4 separate regions of the Homo sapiens genome follow, and regions 2, 3 and 4 are each linked to region 1. Evidence: promoter capture Hi-C in 16 types of primary human blood cells and fetal thymus (Javierre and others, 2016). All regions are on one chromosome and are shown on one strand. Each heading gives the region's core, a stretch centred on a gene start or on the middle of the fragment in contact. The rest is flanking DNA. Distances are from core to core; before and after follow the strand shown.

What was found. Contacts are between HindIII fragments. The CHiCAGO score rates a contact against its expected background, and 5 or more counts as called.
Region 2: a contact is called between a fragment that was not itself captured here and the fragment with the promoter of DOCK11 in region 1, in 1 of 17 cell types (activated CD4 T cells). The highest score is 5.3, in activated CD4 T cells.
Region 3: a fragment that was not itself captured here is called in contact with the fragment with the promoter of DOCK11 in region 1 in 5 of 17 cell types (neutrophils, M0 macrophages, monocytes and 2 more); the score reaches 11.3 in neutrophils.
Region 4: a fragment that was not itself captured here is called in contact with the fragment with the promoter of DOCK11 in region 1 in 3 of 17 cell types (monocytes, naive B cells and total B cells); the score reaches 8.2 in monocytes.

The regions. Positions count from the first base shown.
Region 1 is chrX:118,493,642-118,497,466 of GRCh38, forward strand. It overlaps DOCK11 (dedicator of cytokinesis 11), which reads left to right and starts at 2,174. Exons shown (of 53, transcript NM_144658.4): 1 at 2,174-2,432. The coding sequence starts at 2,331. RefSeq lists enhancers at 1,512-1,581, 1,984-2,962 and silencers at 1,992-2,131, 2,242-2,321, 2,412-2,471, 2,642-2,701. The HindIII fragment of the contact is 5,195 bases long and covers 1-3,825 here.
Region 2 is chrX:118,975,377-118,979,201 of GRCh38, forward strand. It overlaps LONRF3 (LON peptidase N-terminal domain and ring finger 3), which reads left to right. Exons shown (of 11, transcript NM_001031855.3): 1 at 1-221; 2 at 2,969-3,087. Among named protein-coding and RNA genes, the nearest start is that of LONRF3, 2.7 kb to the left of the region's middle. The HindIII fragment of the contact is 628 bases long and covers 1,558-2,185 here.
Region 3 is chrX:118,804,920-118,808,744 of GRCh38, forward strand. It overlaps a transcript of IL13RA1 not described here. Among named protein-coding and RNA genes, the nearest start is that of ZCCHC12, 17 kb to the right of the region's middle. The HindIII fragment of the contact is 5,226 bases long and covers 1-3,825 here.
Region 4 is chrX:118,764,685-118,768,509 of GRCh38, forward strand. It overlaps IL13RA1 (interleukin 13 receptor subunit alpha 1), which reads left to right. Exons shown (of 11, transcript NM_001560.3): 7 at 1,846-1,893; 8 at 2,160-2,292. Among named protein-coding and RNA genes, the nearest start is that of IL13RA1, 39 kb to the left of the region's middle. The HindIII fragment of the contact is 211 bases long and covers 1,549-1,759 here.

The sequences.
Region 1 (3,825 bases), core at 924-3,423:
GTTCAATGCTGTGCACCTTCAGTGGCTACCATAGAGCCTGTGGTACTAAGAATGCTTTTGGCTGAAAGTAACAGAATATTCATCTAAACGTGTCATAAACTGCAGGGGTTTATTTTTCTTACATAAAAAGGAACTAGAGGTAGGCAGTATCAGGCCTGGTTCAACAGTTCAATGCTGTCTGGATTCTACATTGGCTTCTCTGAGATTGCCTTGGCCTTGCCTCATGGTTGCAATATGGCTGCCAAGGGCCAAAGCATTGCAAGAAAACATCCCTCTCAGGAAGAAAGTGGGGCCTGGGCCTCTCTCCTTTTTTTTTCATCAAGGTAGAAAAACTTTCCCAGGAACCCTCCTCTCACACTTCCCTCTTATATCTTATTGGCCCAAACCGATTGGGAGTCTAGACCATCCCACTAGTCAATAAGAGGGAGCTTATCATGGTTTTTTCATCAGTCATGATTCATCACCTGGAGTTGGGCCTGCCTTCCTTAAACCCTGTGGCTCTGCCCTATATCTGAAGTAAATCTGGGCTCTCTTTGCAAGCAAAAAGTGTTATAGCTATTGTGGTGGTAACCAACAGCATGAGCCACACAGGCATTTATGGAACAGAGGGTATGAATTCTTGGAGATCAGCCTACACGCAACAATTAACAAATTTTACACGTACTGTGCAAAACTAAGATTTGTGACAGAATGTCTTTAGAGGACTTCCAGGTCCCAGGCCCTCTAGGAGCCTCCATATATGCTTTATTGAGACTGATGGGATGGCTGAAATAGGCTTACTGCGAAGAGACTTGGCCTTTTCTGGGTTCAAAGAAACCATCACCACGCATGCCCTTGTTTCCATAATAAAGTCCCCTAAAAGACTGTTTGGTCTTTGAGGGTGGGGAAAGTGCCCGATGGGTGGTGGTAGGACTGCTTTCAGAAGGGCTGCTCGGTCCCCCAGACTGAGGGCCATTTTCAAACTCTCAACAAATGAAATAACCAGATAGAAAACTGCCACCATCAGTGGAGCCTTTCACTCTGCACTTCAGGAGGTCTGACAGGGTCACTAGTACTTCAAGATTCCCGTCCCTATTTCTGTCTTAAGCATGTTCGTTTTATACCCTGTTATGAGATGTTCTTTGATTCTTGGAAAAACAATTTCTTGGAAGCTGAAAAGAGTAAGGAGATGAATAGGAAATGGAGAGGTGAGTGCAGGGCACTTGTAAAAGCTACTATAAGATTGGTAAGTCCACCAAACCCAGGGAGATGGCCTTCCTAATGCCCACCCCCACCCCACTCCTGGTGCAGTCAGTGCTGACCTAGGGATCACCTGCCACAGGCTCATCCTAATGCCCACCCCCACCCCACTCCTGGTGCAGTCAGTGCTGACCTAGGGATCACCTGCCACAGGCTCAGGCTCCACCACCCAGCTCTCCCCCGTGGGGGACGGAGCGAGGGGTGCCGCCACAATAAGTTCCCACTTCCAGAAGCATGCTCTCTCCCCAGTGTTGCCCCCTGTTAGGTGAGCCAACTGAGTAGGAAAACGGTGTGGGCGAGGAGGGGGACCCAGTCGAGCCGCTCACGCTGGAAAGCAGCTCTCTGTCCTTCGACATTGGTGCGACCCTTCCCCAAGGAGCACACAAAAGGCGGCTGCTCCACGTTGTTTTCCAGCCCCTAGCCGCCTGGGCCCTGGGGGCTTGCGGGGTGGAGGGACGTGAGAGTTCTCCAGCCCTCCTGCGGGCACTGCAGCTCGGAGGCGGGAGAGGAGCACTAGGGCGGGAGAGGAGCACGCCCCACTCTTGGAGACATTTCATCACCCCTCTCTGTTCCCCCACCCCACCCCGCCCTCCCCACTCAAGCGGAAAAAAAGAAGCAGCCCAGATCTCCCCTCCCGGATGCGGCTGCACCAGCAACATCAGCTGCGGGCGGAGCCCGAGCGGTAGCCACTTCCCCCCTCTTCCCTCGTGACCCTCGCCCCCACCTCCAGTTCTCCCTCCCCCTCTACACACCCTTCCCCATCAGACACACCCTCCTGCTTCGGCTGGTGGCGATCGGAGCTCGGGCCCTCTAGGGGAGGGAGCTGCCGCCGCCGACGCCGTGGGGCAGGACAGTGAGCGGGCGAAGCGAGCGAGAAAAGGAGGGAAGGAGGGAACGAGGGAGGAGCAGCGGGTGGGAGGTGGGAGGGAGGAGCAGCGTGAGCCGCGCCGCCGCCGAGCTGCGATGTGGCCGGCCGGCCGGCGAGTAAACAGAGGGAGCAGCAGCGGCCGCGGCCGCCGCGGGCCGGGGCAGTGAGTCCACCCGCCCGCCGAGGTCCGCCCGCCCGCCGAGACCCGCCCGCCGCCGCTGCCATGGCCGAAGTGCGCAAATTCACCAAACGGCTCAGCAAGCCTGGCACGGCGGCTGAGCTCCGGCAGAGCGTGTCTGAGGCCGTGCGGGGCTCCGTGGTGCTGGTGAGTGGCCGGGGGACGGGGCATCCCGGGGGACGCGCTCCAGGCGGGAGCGACGCGGGAAGGGGCAGGAACGGCGCCAGTGCGGCCGCTTGGTGCGCCGCGCGCTGTCTTTCTCCGCTCCAGTAAGTTTTCGCACCGGCAGCCGCCGGCCGGGGTCCGAGTCCCAGGCGCCGGCTGACAGCTCTCCGGCCGCCCGGCACGGCGGAGGCGTGCGCCGGGATGGAAGCAGACGGGCAAAAGCCGGGCTCGGACGGCTGCGGAGGAGGCGGAGGCGGAGGCTCCCACCCAGGGTCGGGGCCGGGGGTGTGAGCTAAAGAGCTGACCTCGCGCTGCTCTGGACTCGGCACAAAGAGCCGGGGACAAGGGCACGACGAGATCCTGATCCCCTCCCGCGAGCACCTGAGGCCGCCTAGGCGGAAGGATGCGATGAGCGTTTGGCACACACACTCTCGCGCGCACACATACACACACTGTGTACACAAAAAAGAACCCCACCCAGAAAGCCCCGGGCGCCCAAGCTCGGGCTGGCGGTGAGAACAGAGGAAGCAGAGCGACTTCCTCCTGCAACTGGGGAGAGAGGGTGGTGATGGGTGTTGAAGGGGTGCTGCTGCGGAGGAAGGGCATTAGAAACAACGGGGTTCTGCGACAGAGTGGGCGCAGGGTCATCCACCGCAGGGAGAGTGTGTCCCTCGGGGACACGCGAGCGCTCCAGAGGCAAGGGGACCAAGGGGACGGTGCCGTGGGGATTTGGGGGAAGACTGGGTGTGTCAGTCCAGGGATGGAGGACCTGGGGTCAGAGCCCCACAGCTCAGGACTGGGGGATGGGGATTCGAAAGCGCGCTGACTCCCTGGGAACCCTCCCAGAGCACCCTCAGCCTTATCCAGATTGTCTGACTCTGGAGAAAGGCTAAAGGGTGCTAACGGGCACTTGCCCCTTCTCTTGTTTTCAAGACACTCGTTGCCAGTTTCCTGGACAAGCGAACAAACCCTGAATAAGCAATCGGACTGATTAATTAGTGTTTGTTTTGTTACTTTGTTTTTTGGTTGTTGTTTTTGTTTGTTTTTGTCTCCCTCAGCTCCATTTTACAGCGAGTCGTTTGCTGTGTTTAAATTTCACCGTTTAAGAGAGGGCTCTTTTTGTTAAAACAACTTGTCATCGGAAGGGAACTTCACAGCTTTTCCTTGTAATTTTTCTGTTGATCTTGTAGAATCAGCAATAAAACCCAGCATTAAAGGGAGGCCAGGGGCTTGATCCCAACAGTGGAGAAAGTTGACATTAGTGGGAGTTCTGGAGGAGGATCAAAGGTAAACTATGTACCTTTGAGATAAAGATCTGATCCCTAATAGCTACAACTGTGCAAACCTAAGTGACTTTAAAGAAATCTCTTTATTG
Region 2 (3,825 bases), core at 622-3,121, 480 kb after region 1:
CTCCGCCTTGATGGTGGCCACTGGGCGGGCGCGTGGAGCCCGGCGGGCTGGGCAGCAGCCGCCGCCGCCGCTGCGAGTCAACGTGGTGCTCAGCGGCCTCCTCGGCAAGTTGTTTCCAGGCCCAGCGCGAGCGTCGCAACTCCGGCACGAGGGCAACCGACTGTACCGCGAGCGCCAGGTGGAGGCGGCACTGCTCAAGTACAACGAGGCAGTTAAGTTGGGTGAGTCCAACGCGCTGCCGGGCCGGGGCTGGGGCTCGGTGGCTACATGAGGGAGCGGGAGAACAAACCCCGCAGCGAGAAGGGATTTGGACCAGGGCAGAAGAGGGGGCGGGGGACCCATGGACTGTGGCGGGGTGGGGGAGGGGTGATTCTGGGGCTGGGTCTCTGAGTTTGTTCTGTTTTCACTGCTTATCTGTGTTTCACTGTGTTTGTGTTGATCTCGGTTGCTTTTTGTCTTTTCCTGCTACTTCTGTTAGCTTTTGTGTTCCTGTCTCTCAGTCCCCGTTCCTGTCTGTGTCTCCTTGCTTCTGGTTCTTTTTCTCCGTCTCTTCGTATCTTTGTCACTGTTTCTTTCTTTTTCGGTGTCACTGTCTCTGTTCCTCTGACTCTCCTTCTCCCGCTGCACTCCTGGTCTCCTCTTACACCTGCTCGCACCTTCCCAGCGAGGAGAGGAACTTCGCGCGCTCCTCGCACTTGCGCCCGGTCCTCTGGGCTGTAGCCAGCAGGAGATGTCCGGTCGGCGCCTGCGTCCGCCGCTCGCGCCGCCGGGTGTTGCCCCTTCCGGGGCCGCGGCTCCCTGTGGGGTGGGTCCGGCATGGAATTAGGTCAGGAGAGCACTGGTTGCATAAGGGCCGCGAGCGGCCCGGGTCGGGCGCCCCTCCCCCGCGCGAGCGGGCGGGATTGTGTAACCGCTGAGGTAACTGAAGTGGGCCACCACGCTCGCTTCGGAAACCATCCCACGAGCATGTGCGGGGGGAGGGGGAGCGCTTGCGCCCCGCTGCCCTGTGACTCATTGTCACCGCTTCCTATCACACGATCCTCGGCTGAAATAGATGCCCCCCCTTGCCCGCCCCGCCAACCCGTAGCCTGTGCCCTCGCCTCCAACCCCTTTAACCTGGCCAGCCCGGCGGGAGGCCGGCGCGGCAACTGCTTGGGGATCCCTGGGGACCGTGGGCTGGCTACGAATGGGTCACGCCTCTGTCCCGCTTTTCAGTGCCGCCTGGGAGGGTTGGGTGGGCTTTGCAGCTTCAAGGGTAACGTGGGCAGTCCCCCATCTCCAGCTAGACTAGGGCACCCGAATTTCCCCAGGGAGCCGCTCTCTGACCCACCACGCCTGGACCCAGGAAGTGGCTGCTGAGCCGCCAGCCGGTGTTGCCCAGCTCTGGCAGTTTGCCAGGAGCTCGGCCGTGGGGCGCGGTGTCTGGCGAAGCATGCCGGGGAGGAGGCAGCAGGGCTGGGCAGGCAGGGCCCTGGGATCCGAGGGTGTCCTGGACCTGACTCTGTGGAGTGGAGGAGGGGTGTGGGCCGGAGTCTCCACGTGTTTAATCTCCACTCAAGCTTGCAACAGGTAATGGGGGGAGGAGGAGGAGGAATGAGGACTGAAGGGGCAAGGCTGGCAGCCGGAGAAGGGGACCCTTCTAGCTCCTGTCTGTGCACAAGCAAGGCAGACTGTGAGCTGCCACCAGGCTGGAGTGTGCTGCAGAAGAAAAAAGACAGAAAAGACTAAACAATTTGCTAATGTCTTAAGAGCAAGTAATGGGCACGCAAGCAAGCCCTGAGCACACCCCTGGGGAAAAAAAAAACATCAAAGCCTGTTGCCACAGAGGAAGCTAGATCCCAGATCTTGGGGAAGAGCAGGGCAATATGAATGAGGCAGGTGGAGGTCACTTAACTCTAGATCTCTAAGGCAGATTCCATACCTTTTAGCCATCCCCCAGGGGCCAGGAAAGCCCCTTCCTGCCCTCACCCTTCTCCTCTGTTGCCACCACATTCCCCTGGAAGTTCTTCCTTGCATCTTTGTTAATCCCCTCAGAGAAGTCAGGGTGAAAATGTCAAGGCCAGCTTTACCCTTCTAAGAGGAAAGGAGGCTCTCTGTTCTGGAAGATGGCCATTGTGTCCGTATTATTCCAAGTACTGCACACACCTTCAGAAAAAGGAACCTGCTCCCCACATCCCAGCTTCAAAGCTTCAAAGTCTGACCAGTTATCAGTGACTGCCCAGCTAGCCGTGTGACCTTGAGAAAATGCCTTCCCTTCTCTGGGCTTGATTTTCCCATCTGAAGAATGGGTTGATTGAGCCAGATAATCTCTAATAGCCTGTCCAGCTCTGACATCTAGTAATTCAGAGTTTTTGGTGAGAGCCGGCCTCACCTTATTCCCAGAAACCTTGTCCAAGTTCATTTACATTTGGCCATTTGAAATGAGAGGATGGGACCATGTAAATGTATTTCCATTTTCTTCAAGAAATCTTCATATGTGCTGGGCTTTGTAGACAAAGGTGTTACTAATGTCATCAGTCATTCCCACCTGGAAAAGTAACTTGGATTTGTCTTCTTGGTGGTTCAGATAGGGGTCACATCTGCCCACCTCTCTCTCCTTCCTACCTGGCCTGTTTTCTTGTTGGTAATACTGCACTCATAAACCAGGCTGCCGGACACTAGCCGTGTGTAGCCACATCTCGCCTATGTCAAAGTGTCTAATGCACCACTGACACCACGGGGCCTCTAATGAACCACTTGTGAGCGGGGGCAAAAATGACTTTGCAGTTGGGGAACCTCAGGCCCAGAGTGGCTGGGGGTATAGAAGGCAGGACAATATTAGGACTAGAAATAGAGCCTAACCCTTTTGATCTCCAGTAGAAAAGTCCTAGAAAACTTATCATTTGCTCAAGATCCATACTCATACAGGACTTAACACCTGCTTGCGCTGGGGGCCATTAATAAAGGTTTTTCTTTCTTATTTTGACAGCTCCAAATGACCACTTGCTTTATAGCAATCGGTCTCAGATTTATTTCACCTTGGAGTCTCATGAGAATGCACTGCATGATGCAGAAATAGCATGTAAGCTCCGCCCGATGGGTTTTAAGGTGAGTGTGGGATGGAAGAGGTGGGAAGGGGTTGTACTGTAGACAGGTATTGGCAGGAAGGGCTGCCTCCCTGGAGCATAGGGGCACTAGAGCTCAAGCAGAACAGGAAGAAGACTTTGCAAAGGAGCCAGGGTAAAGATCCCTGGGCAAAGAGTGACTCAGGTCTGCAAGGGAGCTGGATTCTTCCCCAATTCAGTCTTCAACTCATGACCTTCAGAGCAGCCTGGGCATAGTGACTCTCTAGAATATGCACTTGGGAGCCAGACTGCCTGGGTTTATGTCCCAACTCTGCTAACTTTTATGACCTTTGTGGCCCTGGGCAAATGACTTAACTTCCCAGTACTTCATCTCCTCATCTGTTAAATGGGGGATATTCAAAGCAGCTACTAAAGAGGGCTGTTGTGAGGATTACATAAGCTAATAATGTAAGGTACTTAGAACAGTGTCTGGCATGTAGCACTATATAAACGTTCTCTTTCTTCCCTTCCTTCCTTCCTTCCTTCCTTTCTCTCTCTCTCTCTTTCTGTTTTCTTTCTTTTTTTTTTTTTTTTTTTTGAGACAGAGTTTCCCTCTCGCACCCAGGCTGGAGTGCAGTGGCGCAATCTCGGCTCACTGCAACCTCCGCCTCCTGGGTTCACGCCATTCTCCTGCCTCAGCCTCCTGAGTAGTTGGGACTACAGGCGCCCGCCACCACACCTGGCTAATTTTTTGTATTTTTTTTTGTAGAGACAGGTTTTC
Region 3 (3,825 bases), core at 771-3,270, 310 kb after region 1:
TTCCTTTCTCAGGAAACAAACCATCAGGCCTCCCAGAAAGTATCCGGGATCTGAAAATCACCAAATCACCACATCCGGACAGTGAGAAGCCAGATCCCTCACCCTTCTTGATTGGCTGACAAACCAACTGCTTCCTGTTGACCAACTCCTCTTCCTTATCCCTCCCTAATTCCTGTTTTCCCACACATGGTTTCACTTCTTCCCTGCTATACAAACACCTAATTTTAGTTGGTCAGGGAGATGGAATTGAGACTGATCTCTTGTCTCCTTGGCTGCTGCACCTGATTAAAGCCTTCTTCCTTGGCAATACTCATTGTCTCAGTGTTTGCCTTTCTGTGCAGTGAGAAAACAGGACCTAGATGGAACTCCTGCTGTTTTGGTAACATTACTACAGACCTCTCAGAATGGCTAAAATAAAAATAATGACAACACCTCAATAATAGTAAGGATGCAAAGAAATCATATCACTCATATATTTCTTGTGGGTACATAAAATGGTACAGCTACTCTGAGAAAGAGTGGCAGTTTGTTTAAAAACGAAACATGCAACTATCACATGGTCCAGCAATTGTACTGTTGGGCCTCTATCCCAGAAAAATAAAAACATATGTTCACACAACAAACTTTACATAAATGTTTATAATGGTTTTATTCATAATTTACAAAAACTAGAAAAACTCAGATATCCTTCAATGGGTGGGTGAATGGTTGAACAATTTTTGGTACAGTCACATCATGGAATACTACTTAGCAATAAAAGTGAATGAATATCACCTCACGCTCATTAGAATGGCCACTATAAAAAAAAACCCATAAAATAGAAAGTGTTGGTGTGGATGTGGGGAAATGAGAATCCTTGTGTGCTATTTGTGGGATTGTGAAATGGTGCAACAGCCATGGAAAACAGAATGGTAGTTCTTCAAAAAGTTAGAAATAGATCTACCTAGGCTGGGTGCGGTGGCTTACGCCTGTAGTCCCAGCACGTTGGGAGGCCGAGGTGGGCAGATCAACTGAGGTTGGGAGTTCCAGACCAGCCTGACCAACATGGAGAAACCCCGTCTCTACTAAAAATACAAAAATTAGCCGGGCGTAGTGGTGGGCACCTGTAATCCCAGCTACTCGGGAGGCTGAGGCAGGAGAATTGCTTGAACCTGGGAGGCAGAGGTTGCGGTGAGCTGAGATCGTGCCATTGCACTCCAGCCTGGGCAACAAGAGTGAAACTCCGTCTCAAAAAAAAAAAAGAAAAAAAGAAAAAAAAAAGAAAAAAGAAAAAGAAATAGATCTACCATATGACTCAGCAATCCCACTTCTGGGTATTTATGCAAAAGCATTAAAAGCAGGGTCTTGGGATATTTGCACACCCATATTCATAGCAGCAGTATTGAAACATGGAGTCTGGGAGCAGCATTCCTATGATCAGTGTCTATGCTATTCCACTTTGTGCTTTTATTAATTCATTCAAGAAGGCTTTTGACGAATATAGATCGTGTACGAGATGCTGTAGTAGATTCAAAGAATAGAGCATGCTTTCTTTTCTTTTTTAAAAAATTGAGATGGTGTCTCACTATTTTGCCCAGGCTAGTCTCAAACTCCTGGGCTCAGGTGATCCTCTTGCCTGCCAAGTAGCTGGGACTACAGGTGCAGTGCATACTTTCTGTCCTATTATTGCTGATAGTCCAGTGCAGGAATGGCAAATTTGTTTCATTTTGTGGATCAGTTCTTCTGGAATACTGTTTCCCGAAGGATTTTGAGATTGGGTTTGGGCTCAGTGGGAAGATGGCTAAGATCTATCAGTGATGTCTCTTGTTGGGTACTGGTGGGGGGGTGTTGATGTACTTGTGCCACATGGTTGCCACCTTGGCTAAGGGCTAGAGTGACATATTTATGTATATAAATAATGGATTATCAACAAGACAGAATATTAGCAATTAGAGTTATGAAAGGAGGTCCAAGTAAAGTGCTGTATACAGGCAGTGGAAAAAATGATGGGGGTGTCGGGGCTGGGAGGATACCCAGAAAAGTTTTTTGAGGGCAGTGCTAGTTGGTCTGCACATTAAAGCAAGAGTAGAATCTGAAGAGATTAACAAAAGGGGGCATCCCTGTCCTCAGAAGGAGTTTGAGTAGAGTGGAAGGATGGATTGTGAGAGAAAGATGACAGAGATAAGCAGATGACCTAGGGATTAGGCAAGAGGTGGAGAGGATCCGCTCCATGCCTGGCAAACAGGAGAGGAGGACACAGATCTGAAGTAGTTTAGAGGTTGACTCACCAGGACTCCATGAATGGGAGGGAGATGCTCAAAATGTTATAGAGAAGCACAGGCTTGGGTGGGGAATGGGGAGTAGATGAGAAATACGAATTTCATTTTGGACATGTTCACTGTAGTATGCTAGAGGAACCATTAGGTTATGATTTCCTACAGGGTTGGGGACACTCACGGATGGCAATGAGAGGAGGGCAGCTTCAAGAGTCAGGGTTATGGGAGCCAGCTGCCAGGGAAAGACCAATGAGGTCATTCCCAAAATAAGACACATTGCAAGCCCTCTCAGCACAGTGTGAGGACAACCCAAATCTAAGCTAGCTCTGGGGGCAGTCATGGCATGGTAGGTTAGATGTCAAAGCAGAGACTTCATCACGAACTTGGCAGCCCAAGAGTAACACACTGCTGCCATCTGGGGGCTGCATGTAGAAATTGTAATGGCAGCTTTGTGAAAGCCACTTAATGAGAGAGGACATTATTTTGGAACCAGCAAGACCCTTCCTCTCAAAAGCCTTTTATAGTTCTTCCTTAAATTCTTTTCTGCCTAGTTCTACTTCTCTGTCCCCAATGAAGGAAACCATGGGTGCACATGTTCTGTAGCATATTTCCAGAAGGACTGAACCCCTGAAAGCAGAATACTTTCAGTCAGCTACAGCATCCTAGCACTGGATTGAGATACTCCATGCTGCTGCTGCTACTGTGCTCTAGCAACTGACCAAAGTTCTTGCCTGAACCACCCTCTGCCGGATCTCCCAAATCCCCTCATTTTGACTTCATCACTGCCTGGTTCTGACCTTTGATACTAGAATACTGAATTTTTGCCTCCAGGGGCACAATTTACTCTTCTATGTTTTCTTTTGCTAGCATCTTTTTCCTAAGTGGAACTGGATTTTCATTTACTCATTTTTCATTCAACAAACATTTATTGAGTGGCCACAGTGTGTCAGGTACTAGGATACATTTGGGAGCAAAAATAGATGGGTCCCCTCAGAAACCTGTATTACAGTCTAACTGTAAAGACAAAACAATCATTTTAAATGTGATAATTGCTATGAAGGAAAGGTCAATGATGCAGTGAGATGTAGTGAGGTGAGATGAAGAAAAGGTCGATGAGGCTGTGAGAACAGGTAACAGGGGATTCTGACCTAGTCTTGCAGGGTAGCAAAAACTTTTCTGAGGATGTGACATTTAAGCTGAAATTTTAAGGATTGGTAGGAATTAGCCAGAAATTAACTGTTCTGAAAACTATGAAACCTATAAGACTGGGAAAGAAGGGGCCATCCTCCTTGTTCCTCTGTCTTCTACAGTGGTAATACAGCAGGGAGATTCAATTGCTTTACATAGGACAGTCTCTAGGAAGATCTTTCATTCTGAATTAGCATGTCAACTACAGTGAAAACATGTCTAAAAAATAACAATTACAACAACTAGAAAATCAGGAAATGTAGAAATAAAGAACCCCCCCTAAAACTCCTCCAAATTAGACTGCCCTAATGAAAATAGGAATAGGTATAAACAGACAAAGAAATACTAATGTTCTTGAAGTCTTGAAATACTATCTTTTGGT
Region 4 (3,825 bases), core at 404-2,903, 270 kb after region 1:
TGTGTTTTTTACTCCATTTTGGAAATACTTGCATTTAAGGAAATTAGTATTCTCTTTACATTAGACAGCAAGTGACTTTTATTGTGTGGAGGAGAATTTTGCATTACACTTTCTTTTCTCCAACCCAGTCAAGTTTTATATCTTATACTCTCAACAAGGGACACTGGTTTCTCGCTCCCTGTCTCTTTTTAAAAAGTTTTTACTGAGTTATAATACATGAACAAAATTACACAAATCATAACCTATAGCTCAATGATTTTTCACAAATGATTTTTCACCTATGTAACCAGCACCACAGAAGCCCCCTTCAGTTGCTGTCCTCCCAAAGAGCAGCTACTCTCCTGGCTTCTAATCCCATAGATTGATTTTGTTGCTACTTTAAAACTTTATATAAATGGAATTATATAGAACGTACTTTTTTTTTTCGAGACAGAGTCTTGCTCTGTCACCCAGGCTGGAGTGCAGTGCAGTGGCGCAATCTCAGCTCACTGCAACCTCCACCTCCCGGGTTCAAGCGATTCTCCTGTCTTAGCGTGCGGAGTAGCTGGGATTACAGGCACATGCCATCAAGCCCAGCTTTTTTTTTTTTTTTGTATTTTTTAGTAGAGACGAGGTTTCGCCATGTTAGGCAGGCTCCTGGCTCTCGAACTCCTGGCCTCATGTGATCCACCCTCCTCAGCCTCCCAAAGTGCTGGGATTACAGGCGTGAGCCACTGTGCCTGGCCCAGAATGTACTTTTTTGTGTGTTTGCCCTTTTTTTCACTCAACATTATGTTTATGAGATTCACCAATGTTGTTTCTTATAGCTGTAGATGGCACGTTCTCACTACATTCATTCCATTGTGTGAATATACCATACTTTATCCATTCTCCCATTGATGGACGTTTGGATAGTTTCCCATTTGGTTTTATGAATGGAGTTCTTATGAACGTTCACATACTTGTCTCTTGGTACACATGTGCGTACATTTGTATGGGGCATTTATATAGGCATATGTGGGTCATAAGGTTACATATGATTGTCTCTAGTAGATAATAACAGTTTTCCTGGATGGTTGTGCCAGTTTACACTACTAAGCAGAAATTGTGAGTTCTAGATGCTTCATATCCTCACAACACTTGTTGTTGTCAGGTAAGTGTGTGTATTGTTATCTTGTGGATTTAATTTGCATTTTTCTCATGACCAGTGATGTTGAACACTTTTTCAGATGTTTATTCGCAACTTGCTTATCCTCTTATGAAGTGCCTGTTCAAGTCTTTTGCCAGTTTTTTTAAAATTGGGTTTTCTGTTTTTGCCTTATTAGTAGGGTAAGAAAAAATACATATGCAAGTCCTTTGTCAGAAATTGCAAATATGTTCTCACACTCTATGCATTGCCTGTTTATTTCCCTATAAGGTGTCATTTGATCAACAAATGTTTTTAATTTTAATATGGATGACTTTATTAAAAAATTCTCTTTATGGTTAATATGGGAGGTTTTTTTGGTCTTGTTTAAGAAATATTTCCCTTCTTCAAGGTCATTAAGATATTCTCTGTTTTTATCTAAAAGCTTGCTATAGTTATGTATTTATTAATTCATTTTATCTTACACATTTAAATCTGCAATATATCAGGAACTGATTTTGTGAATAGTATGAGGTAGGGCGTCAAGAATCTTTTTTTTTTTCATATGCATATGTAATTGACCCAGCACCATTTATTAAAAAAGGCCAACCTTTTTTCACTGTACCTGATCATCTTTTAATGGGATAAAAGGAAAGCTTGTTAGAAATGACTAGGTGATAGAAAATGGGTTTTTAAACATTTAGGACTCATTAGTTTATTTATTTATTTTTATTTTCAAGGTCCAAGAGGCTAAATGTGAGAATCCAGAATTTGAGAGAAATGTGGAGGTCAGTAAATTCAACATTAGCTATTTGGGTTTAGACTTAGAGCAGTTGGGGGTGGAGCATAGCCTAAATATGAGCTGCTTTGAGAAAAACAAATTACGTTGTTCCGTGAGTTATTGACAATTTTTTCGAAAAGTCAAAGATAATTTGAATTGCAATCCAAGTCTTAATCATAGACAGAATTTGGCAGATAATTGTATTATGATTCAATAACAGTGAAAAAGAATAAACTGGTAATATTCCTTGTGTATTTTTATTTTATGCCTAAGAATACATCTTGTTTCATGGTCCCTGGTGTTCTTCCTGATACTTTGAACACAGTCAGAATAAGAGTCAAAACAAATAAGTTATGCTATGAGGATGACAAACTCTGGAGTAATTGGAGCCAAGAAATGAGTATAGGTAAGAGAACAGAATTTTTATTAAAATTTAAAACACTGATGTATAAAAACTAAGCTGAAGCAGAAAATAGACTGGGGAAAGGGACTGTCATGCTCTCTTGATGTCAGGAAAAGAGTACTTACAATTGAAATTTATTTTCTTCTTAATCACTTTCAAACCACCCAGGGTTAATTGACAGTATACAGTTATTTAGAAAACCATAATCCAAATGGTTTTATGTTCTTTTCTATCTCATTTCCATTTTTATTAACAAACTGAACAAAAATATAGAAAGCAGGCATAGGCTGCACACAGTGACTCACGCCTGTGATCCCAGCACTTTGAGAGGCTGAGGCAGGAGGATCGCTTGAGCCCAGGAGTTGGAGACCAGCCTGAGCAACATGGTGAAACCCCATCTCTACAAAAAATACAAAAATTAACCAGATATGGTGGTGCACGCTTGTGGTCTTGGCTACCCAAGAGGCAGAGATGGGAAGATCTCTTGAGCCTGGGAGGCGGAGGTTACAGTGAGCTGAGATTGTGCCACTGCCCTCCAGCCTGGGCGACAGAGTGAGACCGTCTCAAGGAAGAAGAAAAAAAAAAGGCAGGCATAATAAAATTTGCACATTGTACAATACTAGAGACTGTCCTACATGCTGGTTGGCAGAAACAAGAGTGGAGCCATTTAATAGAAACCTGTACCTAAGTTTGAAAAAAATCATTTATTAATTGAAAGGCTGAGCAAGCTAGGCTCAAGTACAGGACTGGAAAGACCTGTGCTTTATGGATGTGTGTGTGGTGGGGTGGGATACACGGCTTTATAAGTGCAATGTGACTCAACATTGTAATCTTAAATGTGTCAAAAAGGCATATACAATCTTAGGAGTGATAAGTGCAGCACCCAGAAAGGAATGCTGCAGGTTGGGGCACAGAGCTATGGTCACATCAGAATTGTGCAGTATTCCATTCTGAGCACCACATTAAAGGAGTTGCCTTGGCAGACTGGAATCTATCCTTGAAAGGATAATCAGGATGTTGAAGAATCTCAAAACTTGGCAAGGAACAATTGGTAAAGTAACTTTGAGGAGTCATGATTGCTGATTTCTAATATTTGAGGTATTGTCAGGTACAAGAAGGAATAGGCTTTACTTTTTGTGTCTCCAAGGGGCAACACAGAACCAACTTAAGAACTTTTTAAACAGCTGTATATTGGTCAAACAGGTTGTCGAGGTAGCCAATTCCCTATTAATTGAGAAGCTCAACAAGTTATGTGCCAGGCATGGTTGTATTCGTTTATTTATTGTTGTATAACAAATTACTCCAAAGTTTAATGGCTTGAACCAACATACATTTACCATCTCACAGTTTCGGTGAGTCAGGAGTCTAGCCACGGCTTAGCTGGAGGTCTCATGAGGTTGCAGTCAAGCTGCAATGAGAACTGAAATATGTCTGAAGGCTTGACTGGGGACAGAGCATCCATTTCCAAGTTCACTCATATAGTTGTTGGAAAGCCTCAGTACCTCACTGGTTGCTGGATGGAGGCTGTTGCAGGTT